6 separate regions of the Homo sapiens genome follow, and regions 2, 3, 4, 5 and 6 are each linked to region 1. Evidence: promoter capture Hi-C in 16 types of primary human blood cells and fetal thymus (Javierre and others, 2016). All regions are on one chromosome and are shown on one strand. The core of a region is centred on a gene start or on the middle of the fragment in contact, and the rest is flanking DNA. Distances in the headings are between cores, read along the strand shown. Region 1 holds the start of GPD2 (glycerol-3-phosphate dehydrogenase 2). Region 2 holds the start of ACVR1 (activin A receptor type 1). Region 3 overlaps LOC105373699 (a long non-coding RNA gene). Region 4 overlaps LOC105373699 (a long non-coding RNA gene). Region 5 overlaps LOC105373712 (a long non-coding RNA gene). Region 6 has its middle 5.9 kb from the start of CYTIP.

Evidence for each region. The method cuts DNA at HindIII sites, captures the fragments that hold promoters and counts their contacts. A CHiCAGO score of 5 or more calls a contact.
Region 2: the fragment with the promoter of ACVR1 here is called in contact with the fragment with the promoter of GPD2 in region 1 in 1 of 17 cell types (monocytes); the score reaches 6.1 in monocytes.
Region 3: a contact is called between a fragment that was not itself captured here and the fragment with the promoter of GPD2 in region 1, in 5 of 17 cell types (megakaryocytes, M1 macrophages, M0 macrophages and 2 more). The highest score is 16.0, in megakaryocytes.
Region 4: a fragment that was not itself captured here is called in contact with the fragment with the promoter of GPD2 in region 1 in 1 of 17 cell types (megakaryocytes); the score reaches 7.1 in megakaryocytes.
Region 5: a contact is called between a fragment that was not itself captured here and the fragment with the promoter of GPD2 in region 1, in 2 of 17 cell types (M0 macrophages and neutrophils). The highest score is 6.2, in M0 macrophages.
Region 6: a fragment that was not itself captured here is called in contact with the fragment with the promoter of GPD2 in region 1 in 3 of 17 cell types (M0 macrophages, M1 macrophages and M2 macrophages); the score reaches 5.9 in M0 macrophages.

What each region holds. Positions count from the first base shown.
Region 1 is chr2:156,433,749-156,438,273 of GRCh38, reverse strand. It overlaps GPD2 (glycerol-3-phosphate dehydrogenase 2), which reads right to left and starts at 1,895. Exons shown (of 17, transcript NM_000408.5): 1 at 1,761-1,895. RefSeq lists silencers at 1,774-2,183, 2,624-2,793 and an enhancer at 2,334-2,383. The HindIII fragment of the contact is 5,965 bases long and covers 1-4,525 here.
Region 2 is chr2:157,874,143-157,878,667 of GRCh38, reverse strand. It overlaps ACVR1 (activin A receptor type 1), which reads left to right and starts at 2,338. Exons shown (of 11, transcript NM_001111067.4): 1 at 2,338-2,872. LOC105373714 (a long non-coding RNA gene) reads right to left here and starts at 2,084. Exons shown (of 2, transcript XR_923518.3): 1 at 1,952-2,084. RefSeq lists silencers at 1,777-1,966, 1,987-2,226, 2,287-2,506, 2,517-2,566, 2,657-2,866 and an enhancer at 2,097-2,391. The HindIII fragment of the contact is 1,597 bases long and covers 1,423-3,019 here.
Region 3 is chr2:155,374,016-155,378,540 of GRCh38, reverse strand. All of the region lies in intron 1 of LOC105373699 (a long non-coding RNA gene), which reads right to left. Among named protein-coding and RNA genes, the nearest start is that of KCNJ3, 680 kb to the right of the region's middle. The HindIII fragment of the contact is 597 bases long and covers 1,928-2,524 here.
Region 4 is chr2:155,392,358-155,396,882 of GRCh38, reverse strand. All of the region lies in intron 1 of LOC105373699 (a long non-coding RNA gene), which reads right to left. Among named protein-coding and RNA genes, the nearest start is that of KCNJ3, 700 kb to the right of the region's middle. The HindIII fragment of the contact is 1,127 bases long and covers 1,487-2,613 here.
Region 5 is chr2:157,471,565-157,476,089 of GRCh38, reverse strand. The region is part of intron 3 of LOC105373712 (a long non-coding RNA gene); the gene reads left to right. Among named protein-coding and RNA genes, the nearest start is that of CYTIP, 30 kb to the right of the region's middle. The HindIII fragment of the contact is 2,625 bases long and covers 544-3,168 here.
Region 6 is chr2:157,447,764-157,452,288 of GRCh38, reverse strand. No RefSeq gene overlaps it. Among named protein-coding and RNA genes, the nearest start is that of CYTIP, 5.9 kb to the right of the region's middle. The HindIII fragment of the contact is 1,181 bases long and covers 1,484-2,664 here.

The sequences.
Region 1 (4,525 bases), core at 646-3,145:
TGAGACAATTGAGGCTGAGTTTTAAAAGATGACCTAAGGCCAAAGTCTTTGGCTCCCCGCTCCACAACTACCCTCAGCTGGAGTTTGTTCCACAGTTCAGTCGCTCATTGAGAAAACATTTATTGAGGGTGTATTACAAGCTAGTCACCCCTCTAGGCATTGGAGGTCACTCATTGAGAAAACATTTATTGAGGGTGTATTACAAGCTAGTCACCACTCCAGGCATTAGAGTTTTGAAAGTATGCAAGACAGAACAAGCCCTGCTACTCTCATAGAACTTACACGCTAGAGATGAAAGAAAACAACCAAACAGGATAAGTTCAGAGTTATAATAGTTTGCCAACATGAGTTATGCACAATAATCATCAAATCTTTTAAAATATCTACAATGAGATTAAATAGTTACAAAAAAAACTAAAGGGGGTGGTAACACTCACTAACAATTGGTAACACTGTGGCCCTTTTGTCAATTCCTGAACCAAGCCATTGCATCTTTGAATGAATCACAAGGGAGAAAGAAGGAAGCAGAGCTCTAATGCTGTTTAGAATTTCTTTATAAAATAAAGTGACTCTATAAGCTATGAGAATGGACAGTTGCAATGAATCCATTGTTGGTTCTCAAACCCAAAACCCCATATTTACCCATTTATTCATTAAAATATTGCTGTATTATTTCACGAGTTGATTTGTAAAAGTCAAGGGAGTGTTGTAATTTGACATAACGCCCCTGTGAGAAACAGAGGGGGGTTTCAACATCCACATCACAAGGTTCCCCAGACTGCACACGGTCTCCATTGGGCAATGGCATCCAGATGTCATGTGGTAGCCAGCAAGAACTGTAGGACTGGGACTAGAGTGGTCAGTAGCTACGAAGAAGTGCCTGGGCCCAGTGTGACAGCTGCCAGCACCGTCCACACGCCAAAAAGAAACTTCACATCTCTTTAAACTTGGAACACATGCAAAATACTAACAGTTTTGTTTTAGCAATAAAGACTCCCTGTCACTTACTAACTTCCTTCCCTCACCTATTTATACAAGTATAAGTTGACTAGCTGCTATTTCTATAGCTGCCTCCTATGATATTTATAATGTGTTGTGTGTGATTTGGGTTGCCCATGTCACTAACACTTTGCAAGAATTTGTGTTTGTAAATTACTCTGGAACTCTTCTGGGAGTGAATATTCCACTGCACAAGGTGGAAGCCAGACTAGAGACCATCTGCTAAGAGCAGCACTTCATTCACCCAGCTACACCTTCCTGCCAAAGCACTCTTTGCAAATCTATTTTTGCTGGTAGAAGTTACTACATAGGGAGTGGAGGCTGTTTTAAGTTATCAGTGTGCACCTTCCATTTCCTCCTAGGACGGTCACACGCCAGCAGCTGAGTTTCTCAAAGAAGCCTCAGCCCTCCTCCAGACTCGTTCTCACTCTTGCTTCGGAAGGGAGCAACAATCCTTATCAGACTAGCCGCATCTACAAGCTAAAAGTTTGCATGAACTTTCAATGGGGTACCAACCCTCGCCCCAAAAGTCCTGCCACTTTACTATTTTACAAATGCCGCCTCCAAAACATAAACAACGAAACCCTAGAGAAGAGCGAATCCATCTTCTGCTGGTGGGAAGAAATTCTAAATCTTTCCCGTTTCCCGCCACCACCTACCGCCAAGACTGGAGTCCCAGAACACTCGCCCGGGTCAGAAAGGGACCACTCCCCCCCTAGAATACTAGAGGCGGGGGAAGGGGTCTCCCAGGAAGCACACACCTGAGATAGATCCTCACGCGCGAGGGGCCAGCGGGCAGGAGCACCCAGTTCCTCCAGCCAGGGTGGAGTCGGCCTCCCCCCAGAATCAGAGCCTCGGCCCGGGTGCTCCCAGCGAGGCGCGCGGGGCTGTCACTCGAGGCGGGCTGGGCGGGTGTAACTCGAGCGCCGGGCGGGCCGCGCCCCCGCCTTCCCTCTTCCCGACTTCCTCCTCCCGCTCCCGCGCCTGCTCCCTCCCGGAGGCCTGACCAGGGCGGCGAGGCCGCCACCTCCTGCCCGGATACCTCGGGCCCAGGCTCCTCCGGCCCAGCGGGGAAACGCGGAAGTGGGGGCGGGAACCGGGGCCGGGGTTGGCGGGGGTGTGGGAGGGAAAAGCCAACAGCGGGCGGCGAGCGAGGTGGTCTCCGTGGCCCAATGAACGTGACTAGACGGGGACGCGGGTCCTGCCGCCGGGTGGGGTCGCGCAGCGCCACACGCAAGGGCCCTCGCCCCTGGCTGCAGTTCCTGCTTTGTGCCTCGGCGATGCCGGACTCCAGACCTCCGCCCCGCCTTGCCAGCGGGCTGGCGGACTGGAAAGCCTGAGCTAGGCCAGGCTGGGGAAGACGGTGGCGGTGTCCGATTTCCTGTGCCCTCGCCCATGCGGGCCGCCCTGGCCATCTGCCTGCGGGAGAGGAGACACTCGTCCGCCGGCACGCTGGCGGGGCTGGCTTACCTGACGACTTCTCGTTGTCCGCCCTGGGATCTGGCTTCTCCTACTCTGTACCTCCCGGCCGGCAGGCTTCCCTAGGCCTACAGACGTGTCCAGGAGGCGGGCGACCCTGCGACCCCGCCGTCAGAGCCCAGAACCCTCGCCCGGCTCCCCCGGCGGGCTCTGGAGGCGCGCCAGGCCTCCTGGCTCCCCGCCTGAATGTCAGCGCAGGGACCCGCAGGGAAGACCAAGCCCAAGCTCCAGGGGGTGGAATGCTGAGCACAGGTTCCCCAGACCCAGCCTCATACAGGTGGGGGGAGGCGGAGAGCCCCGGCAGCTGAACAGCAGGCTTCCCACTTGCAACCCCCCGCCACCCAAAAAAAAAAAACGACCCTGCCCACTGAGCATGCCCAGCTTACTTGTTGGAACTCCTAGGGCTAGACAAGCCCAAGGGGACCTAAGGAAGGCAAAGTTGGGGCTCAAATGGACCCCACTTCTTTAACAGCTTTGCTCCGAAGACCTCTGGGTGCTGTACTAATAACCTTTCTATCGTGGTATTGGAAAATATCCAGGAGATGGACGGAAATGCCTTTCCAAAAGAAGGAAGAAAATTAGTGTGAACCAAAAAGCAGTGGTATTTTTTTAAATAAAGTATTAAGTCACTCATTTAATGTCCTTAAATACCGCAGAATTCCTGTAGTTGACCCAGAGGAATGCATATATTTATTAAATCCCAAACTCAGTAACTTCAGGGAACCATCCATAGTCCACAGAGGAGCAATGATTCTCACCCTTGGACACATTAAAATTGGGGGGAGGGGGCAGGGAGGGGTGGAATGCCAGATTTCCATCCCCAAGTCCAATGAGTCAGTCTGGACGTGGGATCTGCAAGTCCTTGTATTTTAAAACTGGCTCTAAAAGTGTAGTCACTGGAGCCCGCAGCATCAGCATCACCTGAGAACTTGACAGAAACTGTACTCCAGTGACCTGATTCATAGACTCTGGGGCTGGGGCTGAGCTACCCAGATTTAACAAGCCCTTTGGGTAGTTCTGATGCACATTAAAGTTTGAGAACCACGGTTTAAAAGCTCCCCCAGTTGAATCATGAGCAACCAGAAAAAGGAAATTGTAGTTGAGAAAAGAAAAATAGTTCAGAGCATTTGAGCAATGTGAGGTATGCAAAATTTATCAGGCCCAGAGAGACCTTGAATATGGGACATAAGTTGCACCCCCCACACTCATGCTCAGAGGCGATTGTTTAAAGGCATTTTGTTCATGACTGACTACCCAACCATATCTTCATGTTCCTGGAATTTGTGATACGAAGAACAATCTATAGACAATTAATAGTTTGTTTTTTTATGTAAATTATTGGTAAACAATTTAGAAACTGCCTCTTCTTTTCCTTTAAAAACTTCCTTGTGGCCGGGCAGGCGCAGTGGGTCACGCCTGTAATCTCAGCACTTTGGGAGGCTGAGGTGGGCAGATCACGAGGTCAAGAGTTCAAGACCAGCCTAACCAACATGGTGAAACCCTATCTCTACTAAAAATACAAAAATTAGCCGGGCATGGTGGCAAACACCTGTAATCCCAGCTACTCAGGAAGCTGAGGCAGGAGAATCACTTGAACCTGGGAGGCAGAGGTTACAGTGAGCTGAGATGGCACCACTGAACTCCACCCTGGGCAACAGAGTGAGACTCCATCTCAAAAAATAAATAAATAAAAACTTGTGACTGGGCAACATCATGAGACTGGTTATATTAAGTATGCCTCAGTTCTTTTTTCTTTAGTTTGACAAATCAAACCAATATTTTTATCATTTTTTTCAAACCCTCATCATTTATCTAGAAATGCAACATGTTACCCAGAAAAGGAATAATCTGGTTGAGTTGGGTGCCAGTCCTGGATTTCCTTCTCACTGATTATCCCAGATCAGTTCAGTGCTTGGGAAATGGGACCATCAGTTACTCACTTTTGTACTCTAGTGCCTAGCATAGTGCCTGAATATAACTGATGTTTAAATGTTTCTTGATTTGAAATGAATGCTTAGGTGAGCGATCTGGTCCAATCCATACTATG
Region 2 (4,525 bases), core at 1,089-3,588, 1.4 Mb before region 1:
GTGGTTGCCAGGAATATGTTTTAGGGCAGGGGTCCCAATCCAGACCCCAAGAGAGGGTTCTTGGATCTCACGCAAGAAAGAATTCAGGGCGAGTCCGCAGTGTAAAGTAAAAGCCAGTTTATTAAGAAAGCAAAGTGGTGAAAGGACACCTACTCCATAGACAAAGTAGGATGTTGCCGAAAGTAAGAGGAGGAACGATTCCATGCTAGGTACATCGCTCGTATATATAGGGAGATGTGCTCTGCTACAAGAGTTTGTGATAAATAAATAAATTACTATATTTTGCAAGAATCAATATTATCTTTAAAGCAAAATTAGGAATGCCTTTGTTCTCCAGATATCGGGATATCTGGACACTCCCAAGTCTGGGTTTGTTTAGTAAACACTATTAATTTGTTCCCTTAGCTGTAAACATCTAGAGGCTAAGAAAGCCTAACTTCCCGAGAATGCAGCCCAGCCAGTCTCAGTCTCATTTTCCTAGCCCTCATTCAAAATGGAGTTTCTCTGGTTTGAATGCCTCTGACAGTACCATCCAGAATTCTCCCAGTCTCCTGGCACACTAGTAAGTCACAGGAGGTTGAGTTAGAGTGTTTTTCACTGAGCCAGCCATACAATAAGACCACTATTGAAGGAACTGCTTAAGGAACAAATAATAGGAACTGTTCAGAGCATAACAGGATTCATTAATTCATTTATTTACCTACTCAGCAAAACTTTATTGAACACCCACATGAACCCTTCTGCTAAACATTGTGATACATGATGAATACAATCAGACCTGGTCCCTGCCCTCTTGCAGCTTACAGCCTGGGAGGGAACTCTAAAGGTTACCAAGAAGGGCCAGTTTGTACAATGAGGACTCCATGAATGTACATCATTGAGCTTCACAAGCTTTCACGTTTGTAATCTCATTTGAACTGCACAACCACCTCACGAGACAACCTGTATTCCCTTCTTAGGTTAAAAATGTGCCCCAGTTCAAAACAGTTTGTAAGTGGCAGAGCTGACACTTCAGCCAAGTGACAATGAGGGCCCTGTTACATCATTCTATAGAGCAGGGATACATATAGGTGCTCTTGCCTTGATTGGTACTGAACTTGCCTCTCCTGCTCCTCACCAATCATACAGGTACAAAGCTCTCTTTATGAAAAAAATGCTCCCACCTACTCCATCCTTTTGCTTACAGCTGGGGATTCTAGTTTTTTCACGTATATATGCCTTGTATTTCTAATTAGATTGTAAACTCCCAACCTGCAGGGACCAGATCTTCCATTTCCTTTGCAACCTTTTGCAGTACTGCAGTCACCCAATAAATGCCCTCTGCATGAATGAACCTGTAGAGATAAAAATACTTTATGGCATTCCCATTTATAGGTTTCATGTTTTTATTCTGCTTTGTGATAGGACTGTACATTATAAGCTTCTAGAGGGCAGAGAAAATGGCTTAGTGCTTTCCTTTACACTCAGCAGGAACCATGCAAAATTTGATCCTTGCATGCCTTTTTGATGCTCTGGGTAATATTAGCACACTGGGGTGTTTTTGTGTATCTAAGGACCGAGGTTATCAGACTCTCTGCAGCGGAGAATGTTCCTGCATTTCCACTGTAAGCTCCCATGGCGCCTAGGACAGGGCTAGATCACTGCAGAAGCCCCTCCATGCTTATTTCTGTTACTAAGGAAGCCAAAGGCGAACATGGCAAGCTCTGTCATAACCCTAGACCTTGCAAGGAAATGAGCAAAGTGGAAGGGGATCTGAAGGCAGGTCAGAGATGGCCTGGATGAGAATGCTAAGGCTTCTCTCTGAGAATCCAGCCCAAGTCTGACATGCAGGGCTCGAGTAGGTGGCCGCCCGCAGTCGCCGGGCCCGGGATGCCCGCCCGTCCGCCCGCCTGCCCCGCGCGCCCTCGGGAGCTGTCCAGACGGCCCCGCCCGCGCCTACCTGGGCACTCACCCGTGCCGCGCGGCCTCTTCTCCTCCCACCCCGGCCACAGGAGCCCAGCTCGGGCCTGCCCCGCCGCCTCCGAGGAGCCCCGCTGGCGGCGCGCTCATAGCTTCCACCCGGGCCAAGCGACCGGCCAGACAGCGCCAGGCGCGCCGGGGGCGGCGCGGTCAGGCTCGGCGGGGCTCGGCGGGCTCGCCCTCGGCCGGGCGCCTGCAGGGGGCGCGGGGACGGCCCCGCCCCGCCGCCTCCTCTCTCCCCTCCCGGCTCCCTGGATCCGCGCCGGGAGGAAATGATGTGTTGCTGCCTGGTTAATCACAGCTCCAGACACTCATTGGCCGAGCGCTCCGCAGCCACTTCCTCCTCCTCCTCCTCCCGCTCCTCCCGCTCCGGCTCCTGCTCTTTGCAGCCGCCGCCGCCGCCGCAGCCTCCCCCTCGGCGCAGGGGGAACTTTTCTACTCTCTGTGACGGTCTCCCCCGCCGCCCCCGGGGGCAAGCCCAGCTGGTCCGCCCGCCCCGCCCGCGGTCGTGCTCCCAGCCCGAGCCTCTGCGCCTCGGGAAGTTTATTCTGCCCGCCCTCCTCCCCTTCCTCCTCCTCTTCACCCCGCCTCCCCGCCCTCCCCCGGCTCTTTCCCCCGGGTGGCTGCCGCTGCCGCCGCTGCCGCTGCCAGCCTGCTCCTCGGCCAGCCGCGCCGGCCCCAGGGCCGGGAAGCTCCCGGCCCCACGCACCGCTCCGCTGCAGCCACCGCAGCCGCCGCCGCTCTGGGCCGGCCCTCGGCCCCCGGCTCCCGGCCCCGCAGAGTTCCGGGCTCCCTCGCCGGCTGCACCGCCCCGCCCCGCCCCGCGCCGCCCCGCGCCGCGCCGACCTGCAGCGCCCGGCTGCCTCGCACTCCGCCTCCCCCGGCTCAGCCCCCGGCCGCGGCGGGACCCGAGGTGAGCGCAGGTCGCCGGCCGCGCCTGCTGGAGCCGGGAGGACTGAGGGAGGAGGTAGCCTAGCGGGAGAAGAGGCAGGGATCGGGGGTGGCAGGGTGGGCGTCTGCGGTGCCTCCCCCTCGCTTTCATTCCTTTCTCCCCCAAGCTTGATCCCCTCTCCGTGGGGGAAGCAGCCGCGGAACAAAACTGTCTTGCTTTGGGCCTGAACTGCTGGTGGGATATGGGGGGTGGGGGGGCAGAGGCGTGGAGCGGGGGTCTCAGGTTTGTATTGGGGTGTGTGTGAGTGCGTGTGTGTGTGTGTGTGTGTTGTGAACTCCTTCAGGGTGTGCGACTCTGACTTGTAAATCGATCTGGCCGCGGGGCCACGGGGCTTACCTTCCTAGCTGAGCTTGTAGAGAGTAAGGAGATAGATAGGCGAATTTCCCCCACCCTCAAAATATCCATCTCTTCCAAGAGGAATTTTCTGCTGGAGAGACAGCCAATAAACTCTGCTCAACTCCCTCCCTCCCTCGGTTCTTCCTAGCTGCAGTTTCAAAAAGCTTCAAAGCCAGGAATGTGGGATTCATCTTCCGATCCCCAGAAGGCAAATGTGGTTACAGATGTTGCACGGTACTTTGCCAAGTTTAAAACCCTTCCTTCAACACTGTAACCAAAACAGTGAGGCTAGAACCTCGGGCGCACTAAGAAGAGATGTGGGCCTCTGGGGCCGCTGGATTCAGTAACTTCCGTCGGGTTCTAGACTGGCTCGGCTCTGTCCAGTTTGTGCCAGATAGTCTCCCACCCCCTCCCCACCCCTCCTTTCCCCTGGAGATTTGAACGCTGCTTGCATGGGAGAAAAGCTACTTAGAGAAGAAAACGTTCCACTTAGTAACAGAAGAAAAGTCTTGGTTAAAAAGTTGTCATGAATTTGGCTTTTGGAGAGAGGCAGCAAGGTAATACAATGGACTTGTCAATTTTATTGGGCTTTTCTTTCTTTTTTGAGGGATGTATGATAAGAGTTAGATGATGGGCAAAGGGGCCCGTTCCATACATGTTTTTACATATTTTTGAGAAGAGGCCCATGAATTGAGACATAACCCAGTGGTTTTAAAGAATCCTGTCCCAGAGATGCAGATTGCTCTGACAGCCCAAGGGAAGGCGGTGGCAAAAAATAGACACCACCTCCCTTTTCCCCAAAAAAATTCTTCCTGGAAAGGTGGTGTTAAGAAATTTCAGAGATGGGCTGATCCAAGTGGCGGGCCTTAAATGGAAACACTATAGTATGTCCTGGCACTTGTCTCTGGAGGTGGGTTGCTGGCCAGGGGCCCAGGCTTGGGCAGCCAGCAGACACTAGACTTGTGCTGACCTCAGACATCGGCCTCGCCATGCAGCTTCATAGTGTGCAGACTGCTTAAGTTTGAAATATGGGCCTCATCCATTTCACTGATGGGGACATAGGGGTCAGGAGGTTATCTTATGCCTGGATGGGACCTCGATCACTTATTTTATGATTCACTTGTTTTTATTTTCTGTCTTGGAATTTTAAAAAATGGAATTCTTTTGAAGCTGAAATCTAGGCCTTAAGTTGATGTAACTGGGTGTTGGATAATAGCATTTCTGCTATTACCCCTTATGCAGGTACTCACAGGTGGTGAATGATGGATAGATAAATTC
Region 3 (4,525 bases), core at 977-3,476, 1.1 Mb after region 1:
GGTTTCTGTTAGAAGAATGTAAAGAGTTCATTTTTCAGATTCATGGGAAAGTACAGATTTGGGGATGGAGGAGGGCATTTGAAAAAGAATAAAGTAGCAATCCTAGTCAGAAAGTATATACTACAGCTGTATTGCAATCTGCCAAAACAACTGTGCCCTATTATGTTAATAAAACAAAAATATCACTTTGTGATGTGGGTATTTCCAGCATCCCTTCTTGTAAATAGAAACCACCACCCACAATGCATTGTACTTCTTGTGAAATATGCAGATGCGATGTACAGTAATCACACACAGAATGTGTGGGTGATGTCACCTAAGTGTGGGCTGGGTACACTTTACAATGCATTTTGGATTTGTATTCATTTAAAAACAGCATGGTATTGCTTTTTGATAACACTCATAATGGAATGGTTTTGCTTCTTCAGTGGGTTTTCACTTAGAACAGGAAAAGTGCTAGATTATGATAACATAAGAAAACAAAGCTAAGGCCTATTCTGGGGAAGAAAATGGGTTGCTAGGCTTATTGAACTGGTCTTGTTGATCTTAAGGAAATAAATAAAGAAGTAAAGAAGAACCTCTTTCAATAGAATGTCACTTAACTTCATTTGCAGTATTCATGGAACTGAATCATAAAAATATCATGTGTTAGCATTGCCCTGTATGTCCCATGGCCTTCATTAGCTTACAGGAAGCTCAGTGGAAGCTTGAAAATACTAACAGAAAAAATGACAGAAATCAGGTATGCTGTCCTCTGGTTTTGCTTTAAGATAATCGTAATAATAAAAGTTTGGGTTAGGCATCCATTTATATGTGAAAAGTAAAGAACACTGAGCAAGGCAGAATCCAGAAGCCAAGATATAGCCAGCGATGTTTAAGAGAAAGAGCCCCGGCTGTAAATGTGCACAATATTCCACATTATATACATGTCATTTCTGAGTACTGTTGGAACGATGCGGTGTCAAATCTGTATGACAGATTGAGGTGAAAGCTGGGAAGAGAGAGCTTGTGAAAAAGCAGCCCTGACTGAGTGGGGCATCCTATAGGATTTATCCTGCAGGCTAAGTAACCAGCTTCATCTCATAAAAGGAAGAGGAGAACCGGGATAATTGTCTACTAATTTAACTAGCTCATTTGGTCATTGTATTATTTAAATTGTATTCAAGTGTAACAATGCCATCTAGTGATGAGATTCTAAACTGATCTTTTAACTGAAATCCTGGTTAAGGTTAGAAGGCAAGTGTTTGGCTATTAGATAGCACTTTAACTTAATATTCTATGAAATAATAGAGCACTCCCAATGTCTGTTTTAGTGTTAGATAAATTATCCATACAAGATAACACAAAGGACAAAATGAACTCCCTCCCTTTTTTGCCTTTTTATGCAGCCTTATTTTTATGTGGGAAGTTCATGTTCAATAGTAAAACATCCTATGATTTTCCATCAGTCTGTGACCTGAGTTTATAGCATCTCTGATATTTTCTCATTCAATAGATCTTTACAATCAATTGTACTGAAAGCATATCTTTTATTTAACCTTTGCTTTTCGAAAACAGTATTTGTAAAACTTTAGCTAACAAAATGATCATTAGTTATTTCTTTTCTTTTACCCATCTCCACTTTTTGCTTCCAGCATAAAACCAGCTCTTCTAAAACATGGAGGTCAAAGTTCTTCAAGATCATAATTCATGTTTCTCCATGGCAATGACTACTTATCACATCATCCTGTTAAAACTTGAAAACAACTTATACCTTTATTGAGAGAAATATAAATTTATAGGAATACACATTTTAATTGTAATTGCTTGCCTGAAATTTGGGCAAAAGTGATTTAAAAATAAGAACTGAAATAAAAAAAGAATAAGAACTAAAATCAGTGGAAATAGATTTTAGGATTATCTTTACTATTAGTTAATTATATAAGCTTAAATTTAAGAGACAGGTTCTTCGGCTTCAGTTTCCTCTGGGAAAAAAAAATGTGTGGATCTGACAAAGTAATCTCTAATATATTTTCCACCTACAAACTTCTGGGCCCGTTAAGTAGCTGATAAATAAAATTTTTAAAAGAGTGGAGCAACAGGAAGAGTTGACTTTGTTCTACTTCTGGTCTTTGTGGCTGCACTCCAAGACTTTGAACTCTTCTTCAGCAGATGTTTAACAAAATGTGTTGTTTGATAGATTATCCTTAACACTTTAGGCATATCATCTATAGGCAGGGAACAGAGTAAGGGAAGATATCCCAGTGCAGGATAAAAATGTATAACATTCGAAATATTGCTTCACATCAATTTTTATATCAGCTATATTCTAAAGTGTTTTATGTAGACATATGACCCCCAAAATTGAAAAAAAAATGTTATGGTATAAAGATGTTGCATCACCCACTTTCCCCTCACTCAATAATGTGTAATGACATGGTACCTTTCTTTTTTAATGTTTCATGCAGAAAACAAATTTTATATTCCAATCCCTAAAATTTCAGATGATATTACAAAATTTTCTCAATTGTCTAATATATAAGCTTTTTCGAACAGGAAAGGTGCTACCTGATGCCATGGAAACCTACATATATTTTTAGTTTATATGTAGAAAAATTAAAATATCCTGATTTTAATAGTAATAAACAGATACTAAGACTCCCTTTCTGATAAATAAATTAAAAAGTCAGCATTATATCTTCTTAAAAGAGCTAAGGGTCATTTGTTATTCACTTATTTTTTGTTCTGTAAGTTTCCTTATGTATCTTTCATCTTATCCACCATAGTAACAATATTAAAATAAATAGCAGATTTTTCTTCAGTTTAACTATTATAAAATGAAGTTACTTTTAGTATATTGTGATTATTTACCTACTTATTTTTAGTAGTTGCATATTCTAATTCAGGATTATTAGTGAAGAATAGGTGAGTGCAAGTCCAAATTATTTGTCATATATATATAAATCTGTACTCGGTTATAGGAATTTTTTTTAGTAACAAACCAAACAACACGAAAACATAAATAAGGCAGGTATAATCTCTGCCTGATAATGTGACTTGAGAGCAAAACTTGGGAAATTACAGCTCCCATTCCCAGTTAAAAGACAAAGACCAAATACAATAAAAACAGATATGCGTGTGGTCCAATAACAATGTTAGGAGCATACCTGTTGGATTTCACAATAAATATTTTCGTTGAAAACATTTATAAACTAAATTGTATATTGTTAAAGAAAATATTCATTAAATAATTAATTAAAATCAAGACACATTTTATGTTTTAAATTCTTCCTCCAACTTTTTACACTTTGTATTTTTCTTTCTGCACATGCTCTCTCTTGCTTGTGCTCTCTCTCCTCCTTTTCTTTCGTTGCTTTCTTTCTATATTTGTTATTCTTATATGATTTCGAACAAAATATATAATTTTATTGATAAATTATCTGGTTTTATGAATTTTCTTACTTTGTTATGTTTTTTGGCCTGAGCTACAATAACAGCTGTAAATCCATAAGACTTTGAATAATAATGCATGTGAAGAATTTTAATTTCTTTGAAAAAAACTTATTTATTTGAGGTTATTAGACATTATCATTCTGATAACCTGCGAGATCTTATAAATCTGATTTTTTTGGCTTTGTCAAAGCATTTTTTTTTGCTTTAATACATGCCAGTTTATTTCCACAAATTGTTCATGAGAATGAAAAACTGGCTGATAATTAGTTCACTAACATATTTTACAAATATTTACTACAATCAAATTCACCCTCTAAAATCTCAATATAAATTTTAGGATATATTGAATCATTTTGAAAAACCACAACCTCTCTCTTGCTGCTCTATCGATGTGGTGCCTAATTACTACTATATTTACTATTTATTTCACCTAAACGTCTCTATGGTTATAACAACACAACCTTGATTTAACCAATTAACAAGTAGAAAAATCAATAAAACAACTAGATGTTTTTCAATATATTGCCACAAAAGATATTTAAATTTGTGTTTTTTTTAAACCTGACCTCAACTGTTATTTGAGTAGCCTGATAATATTGATAAGTTGCAGTTTTGTGTAGTAAACAGAACCCGTATGTTATAGACTCTTGGGATTGAAGCAATAGGCCTAGCTTATCTGTAAAAGGCATGATTATACATTACTAAGCTACTCAAACGATTGATTTAGTAGAATTACAGAGAATAGAATTACTCATCTAATATGTTTGCTTTAAAGATGGCAAATAAATTGGTTTATGGGAAAATGTTTCATTACTCAAACTGCTGTTTTTTAACGTTATCTAGGAAGATTGGTAACATACAACCAGTGAAAAAGAAGAGTTGCTAAAATAACTAATGAAGTAAATTTTATAAATGTGAATAACTTAGTCAAAGAAGGTTCCTGCCATCATCATCCTGGGATTCAACTGTTTGTCAAAGATCTCAAGAGTACCTCCTTCATGTATATGAAATAAATTTAACCGTGTTATGAAGTTGCAAATAATTTACATACTGACAAATATGATTTTTGAAATCACAAATTCTATTATTTAAT
Region 4 (4,525 bases), core at 801-3,300, 1.0 Mb after region 1:
TAATCCCTGATGAAAAACTGGTCCTTGCTGTAGCATAAATCCATAAAATAGTCATGGATAGTAAGAACCATAGATATGTCAACTTGCCGGGTGCAGTGACTACTTGCTTTGGCATGAGACAAGCTAGAGGCTGCTGCTTTTTGTCATTTGGGCTTAGGGTGTCAGCATACTCAGTGTCTTAACTAGAGGAAATAGACTCCCAGAGGACCTCGCTAATTAAACAGAATATTGTCAGTGTACATAATAGAAATTTTGCATGTTCCTAATCAGCAATTAGAGAGTTCCTGACAAATGTAAGGAAGAGATTGATCAAGTTCCAGAAGTGTAGACTGAACATATTCTGGCATAGGTATGTCCAGATAAGGAAAAATGTGTCATAAACATGATTCAAATGGGCAAGTCCGTCGTTGTCTCAGAAGCACAGAGCGGGACCTCTTTTGACTATCAAGATGGTAAGTATTCACCTTGTGTTCCATTTTATGCCTGAGTCATCACCTCAAGAGGACACAAATGTTCTCATTCTATTTCACTTGAAAATATATTTTAAAAAATTTAATGTTTTAGAAAAATATTTCAATTAATAACTCCAATGGCTTTAATCATGACCCTAATTTTGATTAAACTCTATGTGAAAGTGCATCTGACTACTGTAACCACCAAAATCTTCTTATCCCTCCACAGTAATGTAATGGGTGGGCTCAATTACTGTAGTCTACAAGGAAAGACTTCTATTCAATAAAATCTTCAATTTTTTTTTTCTAAATATACATGTACATACATAACATAGAAATTCTTACTACATAAAATATTTAATTAAAATTATTATTAATAACATTTTGTTTTCCTTCTGTAAACAACTTAGATGGGAATAACACACAAGAGAAAATGCCACTTCCCCCGTTGTTAGTACCTTATAGCTGCCTGTCTGTTGATAATTATAATTGGGAATTAGTTTTCTTTTTAATCCTACTTTAGAAGTAAGTAGACATATCATAGGGATAACTGGTATTTTAAAAAATATAATAGTGGGATAGGCCAGGCTAGGCTGCATTAATAAACAAACCAGGTTCTCAGTTAAGACACAAAAAGTTATTTCCCATTCAGGCTACATATTCAAAGAAGGTCAGGGCAGAGATTGTCATCAAGTATCCAATATGACAAAGTCTCCACCATCTTGAATGACACCATCTGGATCACTCACTACCCATCATAATAGTAAGTATTTTTTAAAAAGATTTGCTTATTATCAACCATAAATTGGACATATAAGATATAATAGAAAGGTAACTTTCAGAAAGTACTGAAAGTTAAATTGTAAGTCTGTATTACAGACTGCCCAGCTAAAGAAAAGGTTTAATTCAATTGGAGAGGGAACACGAAGTGCATATAAATGCTTTCTTTTAACCCTTTTTTAGTGATAGAAGTCTAAGATAAATTTTTATCAACTGCACTACAGAAAACCTATCCATTGCAAGACATGGAAGCTTAAAACAATAAACCATTCCCATAATAATATAATAATATGAACATTCAAGTCAAATTTAGGCATTTTAAAAAGTGGTATTTCGGAAACTGGCAGGAAAAACAAACAACAACAAAAAAAAAACAGATCACTGAGAATAGTACTAACGGGGATCCTCACCAAAGACAAAAGAGAAAACAGAGAACGCTGGCAGGTTGTAAACAAATATACAAAATCAAGCATGTATATAGGTGATTTCTGAATATTATAGGCCTACTGGTTTTCCCACTGTCTCCAAAATGTATCATTCTAAATCATGTTGTTGTAACTCCACATTGATTCATATGTTCCAATTATCAGCTTCAGGGTGGTAATAGAGGACCTAGGGAAAGTCTCACTCAAGGACTCTACTAGTTGGCCGGAAATTGCAGGAGTCTAGTAAACCTGAGTACTTTGATTATTCCTTCTGCTCTCTACATTCTTTGGTAGGGTTCACCTTGAATAGTGAGTGCAAAAGAGATTGTGGGATTATTTGACTAATATCTGTCTTTGCTGGACTGGGGGCATTGTGAGGGCAAAGCAATGTCTGGGTTGCTTACCACTTTATCTCCAATGTCTGCTGTGTATTGTGTTTAGAGTTACTGTTCAATAAATATTTTATGAGTGAATAATTGAAAAGTTAATGTTTACATGAAGTTTTCAGATTTAGAGAAAGTGAAAAAAGGGATATGTTCTAATTCAGGTGAATTTTATATCGTTTAAAAATATGTACTGGAAAATACTTTCAAATATACCCAGATTTGCTGAAAGGAGAAATAAAAAATTAAATACAAGAGATCATAATATTTAAACTTATAGATTATATGCTGTAATACCTGAAGAATATAAATATATGAAACATTCACTTTCAGATTTGTATTTTTCCCAAAGAAAAAGCCACATCAAGTATATTTTGTATATGTTTAATTAATGATGTGTTTGAACAGTTCCATTGGGGAGCAAATATAATATTTGGTAATATAATTGCCTGAAGCACAAAAATTTGAATTATTAAGATTGGTTATTTTATATAAGGTTCTTCAGATAGTTTCCGTTTACAATATTTTTCTTAGAAAGTTCTATCAGAAATGATTTTCTGCCCCTTGAAAGCTTACATCTTACTTATAACTCTCTCCGATACATGGAGGACTGGATAAACAAGAATAAGTGAAATACACATATCCCTAGTGTGATTTTAGCAATTAGCTTCGAACTCTTCCACACCAATTTTTATGGAAAATTCTTGCAAGTAATAATATCTACTGATTTAAGTTTTCACACCTTTTCCCTTCCCCTGCCAATCTCACTAACAAGCAAGGAGTAGAAATACTAACAAGGTGATAACTGTCCAAAAGGTGGACAGCAGGAAGAAGAAGAAGGGAGGCAAAAGCCTTGAATAATTGACAACCTAGATAATCAGCCCCCGCATAATTACAATCTTACTGTATTCTACATGTAATTTAGAAATGAGTCACATTATTATGGGTAGAGGTGGTTTAGGTATTAAACTGAATATTGGCATGTTAACAGTCGTAATACATTTGTGATTACAATAGTAATTTTTTCTTTATAATTTGAATATTTATTTTTTCTTCCAAAAGATTTAGTGCCCATTGGACTGTTGTATAAAAGTTAAGCTAAGGTAATCTATAATTCTTTCCTTGCATTTAACAAGAAGTACATGAAAGATATTTAACAATCTTGCTATTTTGGCAGAAACTCAAAACAAACATATGTAACAGTTTTCAAGAGAAATATCAAGCAGGCAGTGCCAAATCAAGGCATTATATTTAGTTTGCTGTAAATAATATGGTGTTTGCACATACTCCATTCTGAGACTGGTCCTGTGTACTTTCTAAAATTAGTAGAATACAGGACAACACCTTTCTTGGAAGCCAATCATAACTCATTTTCTGATTGAAAACTGTGTCCAAAGCAAATGTAGATAAAAAACCAATCCCTTCAAATTAGAGCTAACCAAAGACAGTGATACATAAGTAAAAGTATTTAAGTTATTGAGTAAAATTTATCCATGATATAAATATGTGAAAATTACAGTGCCTTAAAAATAGTCTGTTCCCATGCTTTTTGAAGACATTATCTGAGGTATATTTTTGGGGAACATTTCATACATAAAATGAAAGACCCATTGATTAACAGGAGAATCTGCTCAAACAGGAGCATGTGCATCAGAATTTCTTTTTTCCATCAGTGAAAATGGAATTTACCTAATGTTTGGTATTTTTTTACACATTAAGAAAGGCATACTCTTAGAGTTTGAAAGAGTCCATTTATGTGAAATTATCCTAATAATTTTGTGTGTGTTTTCATTGAATTTTCTCAAATTAATTCAGAGATTAAAGATTGGAAGTATACTGAGGGTCAGCTAAGAAAAGACAGTTAAAGAGAGAACTGAAAGTTGAATCATAAGGATCTATATTACAGCCTGCCCATCTGTATGAAAAAAATGTTAATTCAACTGGAGAGAGAACACAAAACTGACAACAGAAGAGAAATGATAAATATTTGAGGTAATGGATATGCTAATTACCCTGATTTGATCATTACACATTGTATATATGCATGAAAATATCACTCTATATCCCAAAAATAAGTACAATTATTACATGTCAACTAAAAATAAAAGGAAAAAAGAGTAGTGACAAAAGCCAATATTTAATGAGGATGGGAGACTTCTTCACTCGCTAGTAATCTTCTCGCTGAATGAAAGCAATGTAAATATTTTCCTAGTAATAGTACATCAGCTCCTCCTCCACTTCCTCACACTTTTTCTTTTCTAAATCCATTACCTCTCTTATGTGAAAGCACCTAGCAGAATACCTTTTATATGGCATATTCTCAGTAAATGCCAGTTGCCTTCTTTTCATCTTCTGCTCTGCTCAAAACACAACTGACATATTGTGTCAGTCTTTAAAAGGAAAGTTGACAACTGAGCACATTTAGAGGAAAGTTACCATAGTCGAAATTTGTCTTGTTAACCGCCCAGCATCTGGATTATCTTCC
Region 5 (4,525 bases), core at 607-3,106, 1.0 Mb before region 1:
AAATGAGAACATGCAGTTTTTGGTTTTCTGTTCCTGCATTAGTTTGCTAAGGATAATAGCCTCTAGCTCCATTCATGTTCCCACGAAAGACGTGATCTTATTCTTTTTTCATGGTTGCACAGTATTCCATGGTGTATATGGACCACATTGCCTTTATCTAGTCTGTCATTGATGTCGTTTGATGGGCGTTTAGCCTGATTCCGTGTCTTTGCTATCATTAATAGTGCTGCAATGAACATTCGCATACATATGTCTTTATGGTAGAATGATTTATAGTCATCTGAGTATATACCTAGTAATGGGATTGCCGGGTGGAATGGTGGTTCTGCTTTTAGCTCTTTGAGGAATTGCCATACTGCTTTCCACAATGGTTGAACTAATTTACACTCCCACCAACAGTGTATTAGTGTTCTCTTTTCTCTGCAAACTGGCCAGCATCTGTTATTTTTTTGAATTTTTAACAACAGCCATTCTGACTGGTGCGAGATGGTACCTCATCATGGTTTTGATTTGCATTTTTCCAGTGATCAGTGATATTAAGCTTTTTTTCATATCCTTGTTGGCCACATATATCGCTTCTTTTGAGAAGTGTCTGTTCATATCCTTTGCCTACTTTTCAATGGGGTTTAAACCACTATTTTTTAATGTAAGGATTTATACTAATAGTTATATGGACAAAGATTTATGTTCAAATTTGATCACATTATTATTTCTAACAGTGAACTATCAGAAATAACAATATTTAATAAAATTAGATTACTATCAAACTAGAAAATTATGGTTCTGCTATAGTATGGACTGTCATATCACTATTAAAATCATGTTGTGATTAGTTATTAGTGATAAAAGAAAATTATAGCGGGTAGTGTTAGTGTTTAAGTGTAACAAGATAGTGTTTTAAGATACACTATTTAAGTGTAATAAGAGAATATACATAGTTATTTATGCATAATTATCTCATCTGGTTAAAATCAATAATAAAAAAGGACTAGGGAGGTTAAGACAAATGTTCATGATGATTTTTGGTGGTAGTGGGATCCTCTCTACTTTACAAATTATCTGCAACAGAGAGATAATCATGGGAAAAATGTATTTAAATAAGGAAAAGAAACAAATACAAAAGGAAATACCGAGACAAATAAAAAAGGGCAGATCATTAGAAATGGTGAGAGGCTCACGGATATGACTACAAATCTGAAGTGAAGGCAGAGTTGGAATGGAGTTTAGAGCAAATAGAAATACTGGAGTAATTCGTGCTCATGGCCAGCTCCTTCAAAGCACTGAAGTGTATAGAACGGCTGCAAGGAAAGACCTGAGCTTCTCTGTCTTGTGATGAAAGTGAGTTTTGTTTTTCTAAAACAAACCAGTTCTCTGCCCAAATTTACATTTTTATAGATGCCACATATATTTTCAACCTCTAAAATATTTTGGTTAAGATGTTTTCAAAATAATAAATCTTCAAAATCAGTCTCTATTTTCTCTTTATTTTGTTTAAGTCCATGACCTTTCAATTTATGCAATATTTTAATTTTGGGGGAGGGGGGCAGCAAAAGTAGATGTAATTTGTCTATTAGCTATTACTTTGATTTTTATAGTCTAAATATGTGGAAGTTTCCAACTTTCTTATCTTTATTGCAGTTAGACTTTCTAAAATGCCTTAGAGGAGTTTGAAGGTCTCATTATTTTCTTCAAACACTTTATTTCCCAGGAAGGTAGATATTTGTATCTCTTGCCTGTAGAATCTGCTCTATGGTTAGGAGAATTTATGTCCCTATTTTTTAGTTCTCACTTGGATTTCTTGATACTGAAAAAAGCCTCCTGAACTCAGGCCTTTACATACTTGTCCTCAGCATAATGGATGCCTGGTCCACACACTCATGTTCATTTCTTCAGTTTCTCCCTCCCTCTTCAAATTACCCTGGGGCCTTGATCGTGTCTTCTCTTGCTATAGCCTGTCTACCACTACCTAATCTCATATTCCAGCAGTAAGTGATCACTTATGTAGGCTGAGAGGAAAAAAATGTTGTTTTCCTGAATTTCTTTTTAGGAAATAGCAGTATATTTTTGTTAAAACATAAACATAATTGCTTATGCCCAATAAACTTTTACAGAAATAAAATATACTTAAAACTGTGTTTTCCATTGAATTGTCACTACAACATTTCTTTCCTCTAGAACATTTCTTTGCATTTAGTCTTAGTAAGATTGCATTGGGTTCTCCATCAGCCCAAGGTATGAGATGCTGGTTGTTGGATCTGCAAAGCATGACTGAGTCCCAGGGCATTAATCATCATGGCATATGCATTATTTTGCTGCTGTGCTCTGCTGAGCCAAGGAGATGATGCATATGTATTCACACTCCTCCACTCTCACTTTCTTCTTCCATCTATACTTTCTCTCTGAAGGCAGTTTTGGCTGCCACCAAGTACTGTACCCCAAATGCCACATTTTCAAATGCAAATGCCTGTTTACAGGAACATCTTGTCCCTTGGGCCAGTTCATCTCTCTGTGGTACATACCTACCGGTAGTATAGCTATAACTTTGGCTGCTGCTTTGTAAGTATAAAGTCACAACCAGAATTGTAACATGCAAATTTAAAACTGGAATGTCTACAAGTAGGCTCAAATACCTTTGGAGTCACTAAGTTTGTTTAGAGGCATGGAGCTATATTAGCCTGGGACTTGACTTCATGTCCCATAAACCCCTCTGTTCCCTCTTGGAATCTGTTGCCATTAACCTGTGATGTATGTACTCTGCCACCATTACCTCTAGCTCTAGCACTCATCCATTCATATGGCAAATATAGAGAGAGCACCAACCATTGCCAGGCACTCTGCTAGGTGCTAGACATGCACAGTGGAAAAGAGGAAAGAGCCTGTACCATGAGAGAGCTTACGGTCTAGTGGAAATGCAGACAAGAGAGCTAATTAAAATATGCAGTGTTAAGAAAAATCCTCTGTGCTGTAATGGAACCCAGTCCACAGGAAGGACACTCAGATTACCCTTTAGAAGGAGTGATGAAGGAAAGTTTCCCAGAGAAGTAATCCAGAACCCAAAAAAGAAAGGCTTAAAGCTGTGGGTCTCATGCTTCCAGGTCTCCCCCAAAGGATACACTGGGATTCCAGGAGTTCCAGGGTGACAAAGCAGTCAATCATCCAAACCAAGCTTGGACAGGCTATGGCAAGTAATGGGGACATACAAATCTTTAATCTCTGTTTGCTGTTGGTGATGATGGCATCACTGAAATTTTTGAGGTGTATTCTCAGGGTTATTTAACACACATTAAAAAGAAAAATGTATTAAAACTGATTTTTTTTCATGAAGAAAAATCTTGAAGATGTTTCCCTGGATTGAAGAACTCTTCTGGGGTCTGACCACAGGTCTAACTTCTCTGGAGGTTGGTTTGATACCCACTGGAGTGACCTCTGAGAATGGACCCCACTAGTGAATAGCCTCATTAGAGAGGATGTGGGTGGAGAAGGCTGAAGTGATGCTGCCATTTCTCCAGGATGCCTTCTGTAGATTCATCTCTGCTCTGCTGGGAAGCAGACTTCACTGACTCAAATTTTTTTTTTTTGATATTTTAAATTTTGAGTTAGGGTCTCACTCTGTCACCCATGCTGTAGTGCAATAGTGCAAACTTGGCTCCCTGCAGCCTTGACCTCCCAGGCTCAAGCGATCCTCCCTCCTCAGCCTCCTGTGTAGCTGAGACCACAGGCACCCGCCACCATGCCCAGCTAATTTTTTTTTTTTTTTTTAGTTTTTGTAGAGATGGGGTTTTGCCATGTTGCCCAGGCTGGTCTCAAACTCCTGGGCTCAAGTGATCTTCCCACCTTGGCCTCCCAAAGTGCTGGGATTACAAGTGTGAGCCACTGTGCTGGACTTCAAACTTCTTGAACTTTAGCATTCTCATGCTTGCCACAATTGTTCTTCAGAGCTTGATTGGTCAGTGATATGCTGGGTCTCAGCTTGTTTCCCCCTTCTCATCATTGTTCTAATATCATTCCAGATATCTTTATTAATGTTACTGCTACTTCTAACTACTACTACTATTACAACGACTACTACTAAGGGTTTTGTTTTGTTTGTTTTTTGTTTTTTGTTGTGTTTTTTTTTTCTTTTTTTTTTTTTTGAGATGGAGTCTCACTCTGTCACCTAGGTTGGGGTGCAGTGGTGCGATCTTGGCTCATTGCAACCTCCACCTTCTGGGTTCAAGCCATTCTCCCACCTCAGCCTCCCAAGTAGGTGGGAATACAGGTGCACACCACCATGGCTGTCTACTTTTTGTATTTTTAGTAGAGACGGGGTTTCACTATATTGGCCAGGCTGTTCTCAAACTCTTGACCTCGTGATCCACTGGCCTCGGCCTCCCAAAGTGCTGGAATTACAGGTGTGAGCCACTGTGCCCAGCCAGGGTTTTGTTTTTTGAGTGACTATATAGTAGCCAATGTCCTAGGCATTTTTTTTCACATCATCAGAACAACCCTGCAAAAATAAATATTATTATCTTCATTTTGTGGTTTA
Region 6 (4,525 bases), core at 825-3,324, 1.0 Mb before region 1:
GATTACAGGCACCTGCCACCACGCCTGGCTCATTTTTGTATTTTTAGTGGAAATGGGGTTTCACCATGTTGGCAAAGCTGGTCTCGAACTTGTGACCTCAGGTGATCCACCCAACTCGGCCTCCCAAAGTGCTGGGATTACAGGCGTGAGGCCCTGCACCCTGCCCTAAGGGTCAATTCTTAAAAGAAGATTCACTACCATTAACTGTCAAAAGTGTAACACATTACATGTTGCACATTTAAAATTTGGATACTGTCAAATTACCCCACTGTTATTATGTCTTTATTGATTTGTATTCCTACCAAAAGTGTTTAAGTGCTCACTTACTTGCAATTTTGCCAATACTGGATTTCACTAACCTTTATTATTTTTGTTTATTTGGTGAGCAAAAAGTAGTATCTATTTCAGTTTTTGCTTTCCTGATTACTAATTAGGGTGAGTTCCTTTAATAAATCTATCGACAATTTGTATTTCACCTGTAAATTATCTGTTCCTAGCCTTTGCTATTTAAAAATACTTTGTTGAGAAGTATAATTTTAAGAACTCTATTACAACCATTGAGCAATTTTCTGTCACAAATAATTTCTTGCTATCTTTCACTTAGCTTTCACCTGTGAACATTATAGCTTTCATTGAACAGAAGTTTTTCATCTTTACATTGCTAATGCTTTCTGGGCTCTTATGTATTGTTAGGAAAAGCATTCCCAACCTAATTATATTAAATATTCTATATTTTCTGCTATTCTTTTATAGATTTTAAATTATTTTTACTTTTCTAACTCCTTAAGCTGCCTGGAAATTACTATTATATTATCATAAAAAGCTAAGATTTAATTTTTTTCAAATGGGTTCCAGTCTTATTTATTGGAAGATATATTCTTTTCCTAATACATTGAAATAACTTCTTGGAAATATAAATTTCTACATATGCATGTGTATGTTTGGGGAGTCTCTATTCTTTGATAATATTGTATTTATAGACATTCTTTTTATTGACCTTTCCTGTTTGACAATACAGTTCTAACCCATATAATATTAAAGACAGATTTCCCAATGCCCATCCTTACCTCCATCTCTTACCTCTTTTATTTTCAGATTTTTCTTGGCTAGTCTTGTGCACTTTCTCTTTCAGATGAGTGTGAGAACGTGTGTCAAACTTTATAAACAAACAAGCAAGCAAACACACAAAACCTACAGAGATTTTGACTTGCAGTGAACTATTTTAGAACATTTGGGGATAATAAACGTCTTTACAAGATGGGCTCTTCTCATATGAGAACATGGCATACCTTTCCTTAGTCCGGACTCTAGAATTTTCTTCATAACATCTTAAGAATGCTTGCTAAATTCATTTCTGTTTTATGACTTTTTGGCTATTTTGATGTGTCTTTCTCCCATTCTTATAAGTTCTTTTGTAATAAGATAATATTATAGTATAATATATTAACAAATATATAACATAACTGTTATTGTATAAGAAGCTTGTTTCTTTATATTTGTATGTTGTCTTTTGAATGCTATACTTCAGAAAAATTCTCACCAGGTTTTTGTTCTTCATGAATTGTCCTGGATAATCTAGTTATGAAGCCGTATAATCAACAAACTTGACAGTTTCATTGTGTTTCTTTATAAATTCAATATCTTTTGTTTGTGATATACTGTAAAATTGTGAAGAGTGATGATGGTTATGGTCATCGTGGTCTGCCTTTTTACAATAATGAAAACATTTACATTTCAATATTAAGGTTAATGTTGGGTGGGTATTTCTGGTAGATACTCTTCATTATGGTAAGGTATTTTTCCTTCTATCCCCAGCTTACTTGGAATTTTTAAAAGCAAAAATCAATCTTAATAGCTGCGACATCTATTACATTGAATTTAATTTCTTTTTAATGCAGAAATTTAGTGATTTTATTTTATTGCCTAAGGTCATACTCTTTGCCTCAAATAGATTTGAATGAACTCATTTCAGTAAATTATTCCTGCCAGGCGCAGTGGCTCACACCTGTAATCCCAGCACTTTGGGAGGCCGAGGCGGGTGGATTACAAGGTCAGGAGATCGAGACCATCCTGGCTAACAAGGTGAAATCCCGTCTCTACTAAAAATACAAAAAAATTAGCTGGGCGTGGTGGCGGGCGCCTGTAATCCCAGCTACTCGGGAGGCTGAGGCAGGAGAATGGCGTGAACCTGGGAGGCGGAGCTTGCAGTGAGCCGAGATCGCACCATTGCCCTCCAGCCTCGGCGACAGAGCAAGACTCCGTCTCAAATAAATAAATAAATAAATAAAATAAAATAAAACAAATTATTCCTATATTCAAATAGAAACAGCCCTCTTCACTGAAGCCAATTTCTATTGGGTGTGGTGAATACAATTCATTTATTTCATGGTTGTTATGGCAGCAAGATAAAGATATATATGCATCAGGTTAAAAATAAAACTAAATGAAAATTATCTATCCATCTCTCTATATAGACAGGTGGTCTATATGCCTCTATATCTTGATCTTGACGTTTATATTTGATTGGACATATTCTTAAATATTTTATTAATCAAGTAACTTTAAAATAAAAATAGCTACTTTTTAAAAAATACAATAGTCCTCAAAGAAGGAAAATACTCCGGGTAATAAGTGGTCAACCAATTATATATTTCTCTTAAAGCTTTAATCTTTCTTGGAAAGACATCTTCATATTATAGAACAATTCCCTTAGTACAAAAATGTTGTTCATTCCGGTTGAGTTAAACCCTCTCTACCTTTGTCTTAATAGGTTAATGAACAAAAGTTTGTTTTGAATGAATTTTAAACAAATCCAGAATTAGGGTTCCTTTAACTATTGGTTATCCTGGTTACTTTGTGTTTCTTTTTAAAGGGATTTTTGCTGTTAGGGCTTTATCTCTCCAAAAAGGTGATAGTCTGTAGAAATTGGGGAACTCATTAGAGGGCTGACGCTTTTTTTTTTTTTTACAGAGTGATTCAATAGTCTACTGTTCTTCACACTCTATGTGAAGAGTCTTTTCTGTTTTCTATAAGCCTGTATTTTCATTCAGTTTTATTTTTAACCCGATTAAATTATGTGGTATGAATGGGAACACAATATAAAGCAAAGCAATTACAACTACAATGGTTGATGTCAGGGCTGAAAGTCTCAGAATCCCCCCTCTCATACCTTTCTCTTTTTCTTCTTCTTCCCTTATTTCCCAGGACATTCAAAGGATCTCCTTACATTTTCATGAGTACAGTTTTAAAATCATTGCATAGACTACCTCTTAAGACTCAAACAACCCGCATTCACAGAGCATTTTGTATAGATATATGGATAAGTCCACAGGAGAAGCTGCCTTTTAAAACCTATGCACATCCTGACTGCTTCCAGGTGGCCCCAATACTACTGTGTACCTTCAGCATGGACCCTTCAACATGAAGCCATCTCTGCCATATGCCCAACATGCTCAAAGTACTCCCCCTAAACCTGAAATAGATAAAGTTGCAAAAGGAATATTTAAAAGTGCAGTTAATGATGTTTCTAGGTGATAAGTGCACCAAATGAATGTGTCTACTTTTATATCTAAAAGAGTGTTGAAATTATCTTACTGAGTTATTTCATGAAACACTGATCTAGATAATCTATTTAAAGCCCCAATTGAATTTAGTGGCTTAATCCCTTGAATGATATTGCAATCTACCCATAGCTTCATGATTTGATTGAATTAAACTTGAATAAATCAGAAAATTGTTTCCTTGCACTTGTATTAAAAACATAGTAGATTTGATGTATTGCTAGCTATTATTTATATTAGGTTTAAAGTTTTTCTTTGTGTTGTTTTAAATATGCATGTCACAACTCTAAGCCAATATTTGGCTTATATCACACTAGGATTTCTAATATAGGGTCTTTATGACCTTTGTTTCTGTTATTTTCCTTTCCTGAGCTGCCTATTTTTCAGGGCTTGTCCTAGTTACAAATTTTTAGTTTATCCTTTTCTGAAGAAGGCTATTACTCTCTGGGGAGTAGTGTTCATAATTCCAGTGATCCACACTGAGTTGGATGAGGACATCTGTCTACCCAGCTCCATCACTCAAATAAGGTGATACATAGGACAGAGCAGTTTTCACAGTTAGTGGATCCTCATATATGAGAGTAACTTTACTAAATCAAATTTACCTTATATAAATTCAAAGGCACAATATTCAAATATTGTCTATATGACTTTAACACATCTCCTACATCATTCCAGAGACCCAAATAAAAACTTCCCTTCCAAATGAAGGCAAAAGGCCAAAATAAAACAAATTAGCAAACCAAACCACAACAAAACAAAATCCTGTGATGTTCCAGGAAGCCAGATAAAATCTTCTTGTGCAAATAAAGGCAAATAGCAAAAATAAAACAAACAAAAAACTCAACAGCTATCTTAAGATCAGAAAGGCATAGAGGAAGTCTCATTTTTTAAGCAACCAGTTACTCTTCTTCTGTGTCTTACAATAATCCAGAAATTTCACACATTGGCTCTGATGATGGTTT